Regions from separate parts of the Homo sapiens genome. Here region 1 is linked to region 2. The links are contacts of gene promoters, found by promoter capture Hi-C in blood cells and fetal thymus (Javierre and others, 2016). All regions are on one chromosome and are shown on one strand. Each heading gives the region's core, a stretch centred on a gene start or on the middle of the fragment in contact. The rest is flanking DNA. Distances are from core to core; before and after follow the strand shown. Region 1 holds the start of ZNF585B (zinc finger protein 585B). Region 2 holds the start of ZNF160 (zinc finger protein 160).

Region 1 (7,288 bases), core at 2,227-4,726, about 16 Mb before region 2:
TCTTTTTTTTTTTTTTTTTTTTGGTGCTCTGTGGCCCAGGCTGGAGTGCAGTGGCAAGATCTGGGCTCACCGCAAGCTCCGCCTCCCGGGTTCACGCCATTCTCCTGCCTCAGCCTCCAGAGTAGCTGGGACTACAGGCGCCCGCCACCACGCCCGGCTAATTTTTTGTATTTTTAGTAGAGACGGGGTTTCACCGTGTTAGCAAGGATGGTCTCGATCTCCTGACCTCATGATCCGCCCGCCTGGGTCTCCCAAAGTGCTGGGATTACAGGTTTGAGCCACCGCGCCCGGCCATAAAGTGCACTTCTAAACAGCTCATGGGTCAAAGAAAAACAATTACTGAAAAAAATTTTTAAACACTTAGATTTGAACAATACGAAACTGCTACACATCAAAACTTGTTAATCTTTATATTACAGGCTGAAATGGAAAGAACTGAACTTTCAACTCAGGTCAGAAAGCAAGCTGATCACAGTCCTCACCGACCACCATAGCTGACCCTACAGGCCCTCAGTCACTGACCACAGACTCCCGTCACTGACCCCCAAACCCCAATCACTCATCCCAAAGAGCCCCATCAATGACCCGAGAAATCCCTGTCACAGACAACCATCAACGGACGTCACAGACCCCCATCACCATGCCCCGAAACCACCATCACTAATTCCACAGACAACTCCTCTATTACTGACTTCACAGAATCCCTAATTGCAACCAACCAAAATCGTCACAGAGACCTCTCGGCATTAAAACGTGAAAATAGTCCTGACGCCAGCGGCGAAATAGCCTTCGGGGACCACTTCCACTTCCGGTCCGACTTCTAGCACCTCCCCTTATGGACTGTTGATATTGCGCATGCTCTAAATTAACTTGGAAGCCAATTTCAGCCCACAGTCAACAGGGAGCACACACATATTTAGAGACATCGTGCAGTTTCCGTAATCGGCGCTCACGGGCAGAGAATATAACCGCGCCCTTATGGTGTTTATTTGTGTGGGTCGCCATCTTTGATGCGTATCGATTCCGTACAGTGGAGGAGTCCGCCTCCTGGAGTGTTGACTAGAGTAAGGCAAGGATTTTCACATAGAATGCAAGACTGTAACCAGTGTGACCACGCTTGTACCCAAGAAGAAGTTCCTGAAGATAGGATCTGGAGCTTTATGTTTTTTTTTGTTTGTTTGTTTGTTTTGAGACAGAGTCTTGTTCTGTCGCCCAGGCTGGAGTGCAGTGGCGCCATCTCGGCTCACTGCAACCTCTGCCTCCCAGGTTCAAGCGATTCTCCTGCCTCTGCCTCCCGAGTAGCTGGGATTACAGGCAAGCGCCACCACACCCAGCTAATTTTTTTGTATTTTTAGTAGAGACGCAGTTTCACGTCTCTACTGGTCACGCTGGTCTCGAACTCCTGACCTCAAATGATCCACCCACCACGGCCTCCCAAAATGCTGGGGTTATAGGCGTGAGCCACCGCCTCCGGCTGTTATATTTACAATACCTAAGTTACCCCTTGGTTACGGCACACTGCAGAAAACAACGATTTACTAGGAGAAACCATGGGGGAACTAGGAAGCCAGGGATCCTGAGAGAAATAAGGGAGATAAGAGGAGGCATCAGGATGGTACAATCTATTTTTTGGAGACACCACTCAGGAGAAGGGTGGACTGGGATCTGAGTTCACTCCTGGGTGAAACCACTAGGCAAGACGGAGTTATGTCACAGTAGGTAGTATCCTGCAGGAAGGGAGGTACAATTTTTAGTAGTTGAAAACACATTAGGAAATAGGGTAGAAGTTGGGTTAGTACAATCCTCTTCTAGGAGATACCATGGAAGAGGGGTTAGAAGTCTAAGCATCCCCTTTGAAACGGCTGGTAGAAGGCTTTGGGAGGTATAGATATTTTAATCCCCTTAATCTCCATCAGCATCCACCCTAGCTAACTCAAGCACAACTATAGTAAGCAGCAACAATAAAAATAATAATAGTCTTGGCTGGTCGTGGTGGTTCATGCCTGTAATCCCAGCACTTTGGGAGGCCGAGGCGGGCACATCACCTTAGGTGGGGAGTTCGAGACCAGCCTGACCAACATGGTGAAACCCCGTCTCTACTAAAAATACAAAATTAGCTGGGCATGGTGGTGTGTGCCTATAATCCCAGCTACTTGGGGGGCTGAGGCAGGAGAATCGCTTGAACCCAGAAGGCGGAGGTTGCAGTGAGCCGAGATCATGCCATTGCACTCTAGCCTGGGCAACAAGAGCAAAACTCCATCTCAAAACAACAACAACAACAACAACAGCACAATAATAATAATAACAGTCTTTAATATGGCCAACGTGTGACTAAAAACACCTGAAGAAAATCTTGCTTTTTTTTTTTTTTTTTTTTTGAGACAGAGTCTCACTCTGTCACCCAGGCTGGAGTGTAATGGCACAATCATGGCTCACTGCAACCTTGACTGCCCAGGCTCAAAAGCAATCCCAGCTGGGCGCAGTGGCTCATGCCTGTAATCCCAACGCATTGGGAGGCCGAGGCAGGTGGATCATGAGGTCAAGAGATCGAGACCATCCTAGCCAACATGGTGAAACCCTGCCTCTACTAAAAATACAAAAATTAGCTGGGTGTGGTGGCGTGCGCCTGTAGTACCAGCTACTTGGGAGGCTGAGGCAGTAGAATCACTTGAACCCAGGAGGTGGAGGTTGCAGGGAGCTGAGATGGAGCCACTGCACTCCAGCCTGGTGACAGAGTGAGACTCCAAAGAACTGGGATTACAGGCGTGAGCCTCCGAGCCCGGCCAGGGAGTTTTGTTTTTTTTTTTTTTTGATTGCAAAGAGATGTTGAATTTTGTCAAATGCTTTTTCTGTTTCTATTGAGATGACCATATGATTTTTGTCCTTCATTCTGTCAATGTGATGTATTGCACATACTAATCTGCATATGTTAAACCATCTTTGCTTCCCTGGGATAAGTCCCACTTGATCATTGTGTATCTTTTTGACATGCTATTGGATTTGGTTTGCTAGTATTTTGTTGAGGATTTTTGCATCTGCGTTTATCAGGGATCTTGGCCTGTAGTTTTCTCTTTCTTCTGTCTTTGCCTGGTTTTAGTATGAGGATGGTGCTGGCCTCACAGAATCAGTTTGGAAAAATTCCTTCCCCTTCAATTTTTTTGGATTAGTTTGAGAAATATTAGAATTTGTTCTCCCTTAAAAGTTTGGTAGAATCAAATCCAAGAAGGGGATGATGAGAACCTCTAATTTTCAGGCAAACTGGGCAGTTGTTGGTAATCAGGTGACCTAGTAGTTGTCATTGGCATCTGAAGAGGTGGGCAGTCTTGTGGGACTGAGCAATTAAACTGTAAGGTCTGTGCTAACTCAGGTTAGTGTCAGAATTGAATTCAATTGTAGGACACCCATGTAGGGAGGGCTGGAGAAGTGGTGTCAGAAAAACTCCACATATTTTGTGTTAAAAACGAAACATTCTGGAAGTATTGAGTGTTGTGAGAGTATATATTTTTAAAACCAGTTTGTTTTTCCTATGCAACTGTATAAAAAGACATATCAAGTCTCACTCCCCCCACCACCCCAATCACTATAGGTTATCACTATAGGTATTGTTTCTGGTTCACGTTTCCAATACTTCTTTTTTCCTATCTTTTCTTTTTTTAGTGAATATAAACAAATGCTTATATCTAATCTAATTTCCTTTTCTTTTTTAGACGAACTATATGTTACACTGTTCTATACTTTCCATTTTTTATATATTCCAGAGTTAATGTCATTCCGTAGAGAGCTTCGTTTTTTTTTTTTTCTGCTGTGTGTGTATGGGCTGCATAAAACTTTATGATGTGACTGTGGTGATTTGAGCTGCTACCTTTATCAAATACTAAGCATCTATGTGGATGTTAATTTCTTTTTTTTTTGAGATGAAGTCTCACTCTGTCACCAGGCTGTAGCGCAGTGGCACAATCTCAGCTCACTGCAACCTCTGCCTCCCAGGTTCAAGCGATTCTCCTGCCTCAGCCTCCCGAGTAGCTGGGACTACAGGCGCGTGCCACCACACCCAGCTAATTTTTGTATTTTTAGTAGAGACGGGGTTTCATCATGTTGGCCAGGATGGTCTCGATCTCTTCACCTCATGATTCACCCGCCTTGGCCTCCCAAAGTGCTGGGATTACAGGTGTGAGCCACCGTGCCTGGCCGGGATGTTAATTTCTTTCTTTCTTTCTTTTTTTGAGACGGAGTTTTGCTCCTGTTGCCCAGGCTGGAGTGCAGTGGCTTAATCTCGGCTCACTGCAACCTCCGCCTCCCAGGTTCAAGCAATTCTCCTGCCTCAGCCTCCTGAGTAGCTGGGATGACAGGCGCATGCCACCATGCCCAGCTTATTTTTTGTATTTTTAGTAGAGATGGGGTTTCATCATGTTGGCCAGGCTGGTCTCGAACTCCTGACCTCAGGTGATCCACCCACCTCGGCCACCCAAAGGGCTGGGCGTGAGCCACCGCGCCCGGCCATGGATGTTTATTTCTCCATTTCCCATCCTCCTCCCTTTGTCTGTCTCTCTAACCACACACAAATAGCACACTGTTTTAAGTATAGAGGCTTTATCATGTACCTCATATAACTTCATGTAACTTCAATTCTACTTTCTGTCTCTATGAATACACCTATTCTAGGCACCTCATATAAGTGGATTCATACAATATTTGTCCTTTTGGTCTGGCTTATCTCACTCCGCATAGTGTTGAAAAAGAAAATAAATGGCTTTTATCTGAGGAATGCAAGCCTTCTTTATGTGATCAAGCCCAGAGAGGGGTTGGGATGACACAGCTGTTGTGGTGGCTCATGCCTGTAATCCCAGCACTTTGGGAGGCCTCGGTGGGAGGATTACTTGAGGCCCGGAGTTTGAAACTAGACTGGGCAACATAACTAAACCCTCTCTCTATAAATTTTTTTTTCAATTAGCCAGGTGTGGTGGTGTACACCAATAGTCCCAGCTACTCAGAAGGCCTAGGCGGAAGGATGCTTAAGTCCAGGAGTATGAGGCTGCAGTGAGCTGTGATCATACCTCTGCATTCCAGCCTGGGAGACAGAGCAAGACCTTGTCTCTAAAAAAAAAAAAAAAAAAAAAAAATGCTGGGTGCAGTGGCTCACACCTGTAATCCCAGTACTTCGGGAGGCCAAGGCAGGCAGATCACTTGAGGTCAGGAGTTCAAGACCAGCCTAGCCAACATGATGAAACCCTGTCTCTACTTAAAAAAAAAAAAAAAAAAAAAAAAAAAAAGGAAAGAAAAATTAGCCGGGCATGGTGGTGGGTGCCTGTAATCTCAGCTACTAGGGAGGCTGAGGCAGGAGAATCACTTGAACCCAGGAGGCAGACGTTGCAGTGAGCCGAGATCCCACCACTGCACTCCAGCTTGGGCAACAGAGGGAGACCCCATCTCAAAATAAATAAATAAAAATTAAAAAAATAAATTAAAAATTAAAAAAAAGAAATGAGTTTTTTCTGCTCTAAAATCAAAAGTTTGCAAGCTGCATTCCTTTCTGGAGGCTCTGGAGAATTTGTTTTTTTTCATTTTCCAAGTTGGAGAAGCTGCCTGCATTCCTCAGCTCATGGGCTCCTTTCATCTTTACACCCAATAATGGCTGGTCGTGTGTTTCTCACAGCACACAATTCCAACACTGACTTTATGCCTTCTTCCTCATTTCAGACCCCATGTGATTACATTGGGTCTAACTGGACAATCCAGTATAATTCCCCTATGTTAAGGTCAGCCGATTAGCAACTTTAATTCTACCTGTTAATTTAATTCCACTTGCCATGTAACATAGCATATTCACAAGTCCCAGGAACTAGCATGTGGGTATTTTGGGGGGAACATTATCCTGCCTACTTTAGATGTTGAGGTCATTCAAGAGGAAAATGATAGTTTTGTTAACATGTGATGTTAGAACAACTGAATTTCCATCTGGAAAATAATAACTTTGAACATTACCTCACATACACAAAAACTAACTTCAAGTGGATGATAGACCAAAAATAAAAACTAAAACTATACAACCTTTAGAATAAAACATAGGAGAAATTCTTCACAACACTAGAGGAGTCAAAGATTGTTAGAAAGACCAGAAAGCATGAAGCACATTTTAAAGATGAGAAATTGGATTTCATCAGAAGTAAAAACTGCTTTTTGAAAGACATCATGAAGAAACTGAGGGCTGGGCACAGTGACTCACACCTGTAATAACACAGTGAGACCCCATCTCCACAAAACACAAGAAAATTAGTTGGGGGTGGTGGTGCACACCTGCAGTCCCAGCTACTCAGGAGGATCGACTAAACCCAGGAGGTCAAGGCTGTGGTGAGCTATGTTAACACCACTGCACTCCAGACTAGGCAACAGAGCAAGACCCTGTCTCAAAAAAAAAAAAAAAAAAAAACTGAGAAGGTAAGCCCCAGGCAGGGAGAGAATATTTGCAATTTGCAATATGTATATTTGGCAAAGGACTTTTACCCAAACATATAAAGAATTGTTACAACTCAATAATAACCAATTTTAAAATAAGAAAATTTTATTTATTTATTTATTTATTATTATTTTTTGAGATGCAGTTTTGCTCTTGTTGCCCTAGCTGGAGTGCAACAGTGTGATCTCAGCTCACAGCAACCTCTGCCTCCCGGGTTCAAGTGATTCTCCTGCAGGGATTACAGGCATGCACCGCCACGCCTGGCCAATTTCGTATTTTTAGTAGAGACGGTGTTTCTCCACGTTGGTCAGGGTGGTCTCGAACTCCCAACCTCAGGTGATCTGCCCGCCTCAGCCTCCCAAAGTGCTAGGATTACAGGCGTGAGCCACTGCGCCCAGCCGAATATTTTCAATAGATGTCACAAAAGAAGATAAAAGAATGGCAAATAAGTATATGAAAGTATGCTAAGTTCATTGACATCAGGAAATGCAAATTAAAAACATAATTTGATACTACTGCTCATTCCTTAGAATAGTCAATAGATGCCTGATGTGGGGTTTGGGAGGTGGGGATTGACTTAACAATGTGGGGGGCAGAGGGCGGTGAATAAAAATATTCTATATCCGCCGGGCGCGGTGGCTCACGCTTGTAATCTCAGCACTTTGGGAGGCCGAGGCGAGCGGATCACGAAGTCAGAAGTTCGAGGTCGGGAGTTCGAGACCAGCCTGTGAGCTCGAACCCTGTCTCTACTAAAAATACAAAAATTAGCCAGGCATGGTGGCGGGCACCTGTAATACCAGCTACTCGGAAGGCTGAGGCAGGAGAATCGCTTGA
Region 2 (6,821 bases), core at 3,578-6,077:
GCCATTGTCCCCTTGTCTCTCCACTCACAGTCCCCTGCAAAATTCCCCCGCTGTTTAGGGAGTGCCTCCTTCATGGCCCACTTAGCTTCTGAACTTCTCGCCACCCTTCCTGAAGGGAATCCAGGACCCCTGACTGCGAGCGCATCACCTGCTGGAAGGCAAAGCCCCTGCCCAGGATGGCCACCGGGCCCCGGTGATGTGTAGAGCGCGGAAGACCCGGGAGCTGGAGTAAGGCGGTGGGGACGCCTCGGCACTGGCTGAGGACACAGGGTCTGCGGGGCTTTTCAGGCCTCAGTGAGGCCTTCTGCTCTTACATAGACTGGAATAAATAGCCACAGGAAGTTTAGACCAATTACGGATGAAATTTCCAGAATATGAGACCATCCTCACTACCCGCCCTATCCTTTTGGTCTTCCCTGAGGACTCCTCAGCCCGACCCCAGCCCCAGCATCTGAACCACAACCCCAGAGCAGGTGCTGCAGTCGTCCCGTGGCCAAGATGGAGACACAAAACACTCAAAATAATCCATGCAGAAGAGTGTCCGATGTGGTGATGGATGCGGAGACAGTGAAACCTGAGTAACGTGGTAGAGACTGACAGGCAGAGAGAATTTCAGATGGGGGTGCAAGAGGGTGGAAGACAGCTCTGAGGCTAGACCCGAAGGAGAAGAAAGGGACAGAGCTGTGATGATTTGGGGACATAGGGTAAGAGGAGGGACAAAGACTGAGACAGGAAAGGTTTTGATGTTTGGGAAAAGAGAAAAACAAATGTGACTAGGGCAGAGGGAGTCATGAGATGAGGGCAAGCTCCCAGGAGGAGGCTGGACACTGGCAGGGGCCCTGGACGCAGGGCTGTGGAGCCACAGTGAGGAGTTGGGCTTTTGTCCTGGGGAACACGGGAAGCCGGTGGAGGGTTCCCTACCAGGGACTGACATGACTGCTTTAGATTTAGCCATAACTCTAATGCAGAGAAAGGCCTCCAAAGATGGTCTCTCTGCCTCTGAGTCTACACCCCAGCTTCCATCCTTGTGGTTTTGGTTTTGTTTTGTTTTAAATTTTAAAGGACTGAGTCCCATTTAAATTTTTAATTGCAGTGGGCACTCCCCAATTCCTAGAAGAACTGCAAAACACAGATGTACACCCAATTCTGCCAAACATTAAGGGGATTAGTATTGCCCAGACTGAGGTATATTGACTGAGTCCCTCACCTTCACGTTGCAGGTGGATTTACTGAGGGCTAGACGGGGAGATGTTTCACTAAGTCATCCAAGTTGAATTAGAAGATGTATCTGACTCTATGACGGCCTCGAAGGGCTAATGGGCAACACTAGACTTTCTCACGCCTCCCCTGGAAAATTCCAGGATCTTCTTTCACATACCTGGGCAAAAGAAACTTCCCTTTCATGGCTTTATCACATTGATCCCAAACATTTAATTCCTCTTTTCCAGAAAAACACAACATACTAATGAAACGCAGAACTGTGAAAACATGGCTATTGGTGTTGAAAACAGTGAAAGACTGTCAGCTATAGAGATGAGCTCTCTCAGCAAATTTTTTCATGAACACATAAGCTCTGCTGGAATAAGGTTTTGAGTCAATCCAGCCCATCTTTCCACATTTACAGAAAATAGAACTGACAAAAGGGACTTGAGGGGGACATCTGCTTAGTAGTTCACAGGTCACTATTTTAAGAGATGACATAAGGGAAGAAAACTGACTAGTAACAAATAAGTTGGCCGAGCGTGGTGGCTCACGCCTGTAATCCCAGCACTTTGGGAGGCTGAGGCGGGTGGATCACGAGGTCAGGAGATCGAGACCATCCTGGCTACCATGGTGAAACCCCATCTCTACTAAAAATACAAAAAATTTGCCGGGCGTGGTGGCGGCTGCCTGTAGTCCCAACTACTTGGGAGGCTGAGGCAGGAGAATGGCATGAACCTGGGAGGCGGAGCTTGCAGTGAGCCGAGATTGCACCACTGCACTCCAGCCTGGGCGACAGAGCGAGACTCCGTCTCCAAAAAAAAATTAGTTAATAGGTTCTTATGTTAACGTTAAAAAAAAAAGCGTCACTGATATCTTTACCAAATACACATTCATACCATCTAAAATTCCTACTGATGGCCGGCGTAGTGGCTCACGCCTGTAATCCCAGCACTTTGGGAGGGATCACTTGAGATCAGGAGTTTAAGACCAGCCTGGCCAATATAATGAAACCCTATCTCTACTAAAAATACGAAAATTAGCCAGGTGTGGTGGCAGGTGCCTGTAATCCCAGCTACTTGGGAGGCTGAGGCAGGAGAATCACTTGAACCTGGGAGGTGGAGGTGGCAGTGAGCCAAGGTCACACGAGTGCACTACAGCCTGGGCATCAGAGTACCTCCATCTCAAAAAAAATAAATAAGGGCCAGGAGCGGTGGCTCACGCCTGTAATCCCAGAAATTTGGGAGGCCGAGACAGGTGGATCACTTGAGGTCAGGAGGTCAAGACCAGCCTAGCCAACATGGTGAAATCCCGTCTCTACTAAAAATACAAAAAATTAGCCAGGCGTGGTGGCACACACCTGTAATCCCAGCTAGTTGGAAGGCTGAGGCAGGAGAATCACTTGAACCCAGGAGACAGAGGTTGCAGTGAGCTGAGATCACGCCACTGCCCTCCAGCCTGGGTGAAAGAGCGAGACTGTCTCAAAAATAAATAAATAAATAAATAAAAATGAATAAAGTTACCTACTGACTACCAAAGAGTATTTCCAATATATGATAAAGAGTAGAAAGCATGCAGACCTCAATCTGAACTCAACACAATTAACTTCAAATGGAAACCATTTTGAAAATATATATATTATTTAATATGTATATGATATATTAACTATATATGGAATTCTACAAAGGGAAAAAATTGAAAATATATCACATTTAGAAAAGAATGACATGAGCCAATACAGGATTCCACAAAAGCTTACTTCAGCAATAATTACATATAGAAAAAGAGACTGAATTAGATAAGCTTCATCTCAACCTTCAGCATGAACTGTGAGATGAAAGGTAAATACAAGGCACCAGGCAGTGACACAGCCAGTCACTCCTTGCCTCTCTTCACTGCCCCCACCCTACCCCATCCTCGGAAACAGGAAGAGGGAGACCCATAACTGAATGAGGCAAGTCACTGCCCAATGGCTAAACAGCATGGGCAAATGAAAGCTAGCCTCTTATGCCATAATTGTAAAATGCACAAGCCTTTTACACAGAGCTTTGTAATTCTCATCCTTATATGTAGAATTTAAACAATTAGATTACAATTTAAATGTAACACATTATAAATAGAGAAATCAAATTGTCATATCCAATCTCAACTCACCTCTCACCTGGCCCCAGGGCGCCCCTCTTTCTTTATAACTATGTGTTCCTCTCCCCCATTTTGTGCCTCTCACTTTCACCTTGTCTCTCCAGCCTTTTTCCCCTTTTATCTTCCCCCTAGGATTCTGACGATGTTGTGCCTCTTTTTTCTTCTGCTGTTTCTCCCTTCTTTGTTTTTTCCCCTTATATCTGTTCTACTCCATTCTTCCAATTTGTTTCACCTCTTGTGGCGTTTTCTTTCCAATCTTTTCATCGTCCCAATCTCCATCTATTTCTGCCTCTTTCTTACCCCATCTCCGCGCCTCCTCTGCTCTCCCTGTTAAATCCCCTCTTCCCTGTTACACCCGCTTATCCCCACTCTCTGGCACTCCCAGATCCCAGGCCTCCCTGTGTTGTGGTGCTCCCTCTGCTCGCCTTGTCACCAGCTGTCCCCTCCAGCTGTCCCAGCACCACGCAGCTCTGTCTGCCCTCGGCCAAATCCTTTCTCCTCTCCCCCACTCTCTGTCTGAGGAGGCTCCTTCTTTGCTGTCCCTCTCCTTATCTTGTTGTCCTGCATCTCGGGACATCGAGCTTTTCTCTACATTTCGCCAATTGCTTTTCTGCCCCTGCTACTTTCTTGACTGCTTCTTTCACTCTGTCGCTGCAAATCTCTCACCCATCCTCCACTTTGCCATCTGTTTATGGGTCTCCCTCATTTTTCTTTTCTCTTTCTTGGTTTTTCCATCTCCTCTCAGTGGCTCTTTGTCTCTCTTTCTCCTGATTCCCTTGGGCCACACATTCACTGGAGGGTTTGTAGTAAGATGTCTGCATGTTGGAGGAGTACATTTTCCAGGGGGTGGAGCTGGGCAGGCAAAAACACCGGGTGTCACAGGACGGGCCCCGGGCACCTCCCCAACGAGGGCTCAAGGGAAGCGGTGACTGCGAAGGGGAGGCCTGGGGAGCAGCAGGGCCCGGCACGAGGAGGAGGGAGGTGGGGGGCGACGGCGCCTTAGGACAGGGGTGGGATGTGCAGGATCCCAGGACCAGGCGGAGGCGCGGCCTCCCCGGGACTGGGTCGGCGGCGCTGCGCTCCAGGGGCCGACGAGAGCGAGGCTGGGAGGCGCCCAGGGCAGGCGGTGAGGACTTTAAGCGATGCGGGGCGGGAGGAGGAGTCAGTAAAGGATTTTAAGCAGGAAAATCCTGCTTAAACGTTTAAAAAACCGGGAAAGGCCGTGTTTACTTGGCCCAAGGCAGAAAGACCGGGGGCAGGGACCAGCCTCAGGGCGACTTTAACCCAAAAGGAAGCGTCTCCGGGCCCACACAGCAAGGCCTATTTACCTGAGGTGGAGGGTGCGGTGCGGAGATTTTAAGTCCGTAGCGACCCCCGGGCATCGGGTGTGCGAATGGGGGACGGCGAGGCGCAGGTTGAGTCTACACAGAGGAACACTCATACGCCATGGTGTGATGCTTGCTCCGCACGATCCACTTCCGGGTCTGTGGGCAACTGCGCGAAGGAAAGCGACCGAGCGGCCCGGGGCGGGGTCCGAGATGGGCGGAACCGGAAAAGGGCGGGGCGTTGAGAGAGCCGGGCTGAAGCAGGGGCCGCCAGGCAGGGACCCCAGGGAAGGAACGGGGAGGAGCCACCGGGGAGGGGTGGGGAGTGACCAAGTGGAGGGACCCGGGGGCGGGCCGGGGAGGAGCCGCCGGGGAAGGGCGGGGAGGAACCGCGGGAAGGGACCGCGGGGGAGGAAGGCGAAGGGACCGCGGGGGAGGGAGGCAGAGGGACCGCCAGGAAGGGACCCGGGGGAGAGGCGGGGCTGGACGGGACACGTTAGGGTCTGCGATTTCGTGTGATGCCCACAGCCCAGCGCCCAGAGCCATCTGTAGTGTCTTGTGGAACGGCGTAGATGTTTCAAACGGTTTCAAGTTAAAAGCACAGTTGTGTAGGTTATTTTGGAAACCAAACTGCTTTCCTCTTAGAATGGAGGCGGTTTATGTTGAAAGCATTTTTTGCTAGCGCGTTTACCCAGTAATGTTATTGACGCTGAAGCAGCCCAGGAGTCTGGGAACATGGGTTGACACGGAGCGGTGATGGCATGCTGGAAAAGTTTCTGCGATTAAAATTAAGTAATTTAAAAGCCCTGAAATTAGCAGTAACTTTTAAAAAATAGATATAAATTGCATTGTCCTTTTTTATACTTACTATTCTATTCCGTGCGAGATGACAACCTCAAACGCCTATACTTTTTTTTTTTTTTTTTGAGCCGGAGTCACGCTCTGTCGTCCAGGCTGGGGTGCAGTGGCATGATCTCTGCTCACTGCAACCTCGGCCTCCCGGGTTCAAGCAATGCTCCTGCCTCAGCCTCCCGAGTAGCTAGGATTACAGGCGCCCGCCACCACGTTCTTTAGCGGAGATGAAGTTTCACCATGTTGCCTAGGCTGGTCTCGAATTCCTGACCTCAAGTGATCCACCCGCCTCAGCCTCCCAAAGTGCTGGGATTACAGGCGTGAGCCACCATACCTGGCCCCAGGAACTACTTTCACCTACTGAATATATATTAAGTCCTTTGCCACAAAAAGATAATATACATAATTTATCTCAGAACAATTAAGATATTTACCACTGTAAATGACAAATTCAGACTTAGAGAAGGAAGATTTTATTCAAAAGGACTATTGCAATAGAGAGAATGTTCCAATCACAAGATCTGAAAATGTCCAAGAGACACAAACTAAAAAGCTTTTTTTTCTTTTTTTCATATATGGAGGAGTAAACAAGGCTAGAAAGCACAAGCACAAGTTATGAGGCTGTGGATGAGCACTTGGCATGACTACAGTTATTCAGGGAAAGTTTGTTATGTTATGTTATGTTATGTTAAAAATGTTACATATTTCTTGGAGAGAGTCTTGCTCTGTCACCCAGGCTGGAGTGCAGTGGCGTCATCTCTGCTCACTGCAACTTTTCATCTACCAGGCTCAGGCAATCCTCCCACCTCAATCTCCCCAGTAGCTGGGACTACAAGCACACGTCACCATGCCTAGTTAATTTTTGTACTTTTTGTAGAGACGGGGTTTCGCCATGTTGCTCAGGCTAGACTCGAACTCCTGAGCTCGAGGGATCCCCCACACCTTGGCCTCCCAAAGTGCTGGGATCACAGGCGTGAGCCACCGTGCCCGGTCTATTTATTTTTTGAGAGAGCATCTTGCTCTGTTGCCCAGGCTAGAGTGCAGTGTCAAGACCATAGCTCACTGCAGCCTTCAACTCTGGAATCAAGTGATCCTCCTACCTCAGTCTCCCAAGTGGCTGGGACTACGGGTTTGCACCGCCACACTCCACTAATTTTTTTACTTTTTGCAAAGGCGGATTCTCACTATGTTGCCCAGGCAAGTCTTGAACTTCTAGCCTCAACTGATCCTCCCGCCCTGATCTCCCAAAGTGTTGGGATTACAAATGTGAGCCTGGCTCATCATGGAATTCAAGACCAGTTT

What was found. Contacts are between HindIII fragments. The CHiCAGO score rates a contact against its expected background, and 5 or more counts as called.
Region 1: a fragment that was not itself captured here is called in contact with the fragment with the promoter of ZNF160 in region 2 in 1 of 17 cell types (non-activated CD4 T cells); the score reaches 6.9 in non-activated CD4 T cells.

The regions. Positions count from the first base shown.
Region 1 is chr19:37,209,722-37,217,009 of GRCh38, forward strand. ZNF585B (zinc finger protein 585B) reads right to left here and starts at 815. Exons shown (of 5, transcript NM_152279.4): 1 at 720-815. The HindIII fragment of the contact is 8,273 bases long and covers 1-7,288 here.
Region 2 is chr19:53,098,595-53,105,415 of GRCh38, forward strand. It overlaps ZNF160 (zinc finger protein 160), which reads right to left and starts at 4,828. Exons shown (of 6, transcript NM_001322131.2): 1 at 4,671-4,828. RefSeq lists a silencer at 4,871-5,280. The HindIII fragment of the contact is 3,069 bases long and covers 3,002-6,070 here.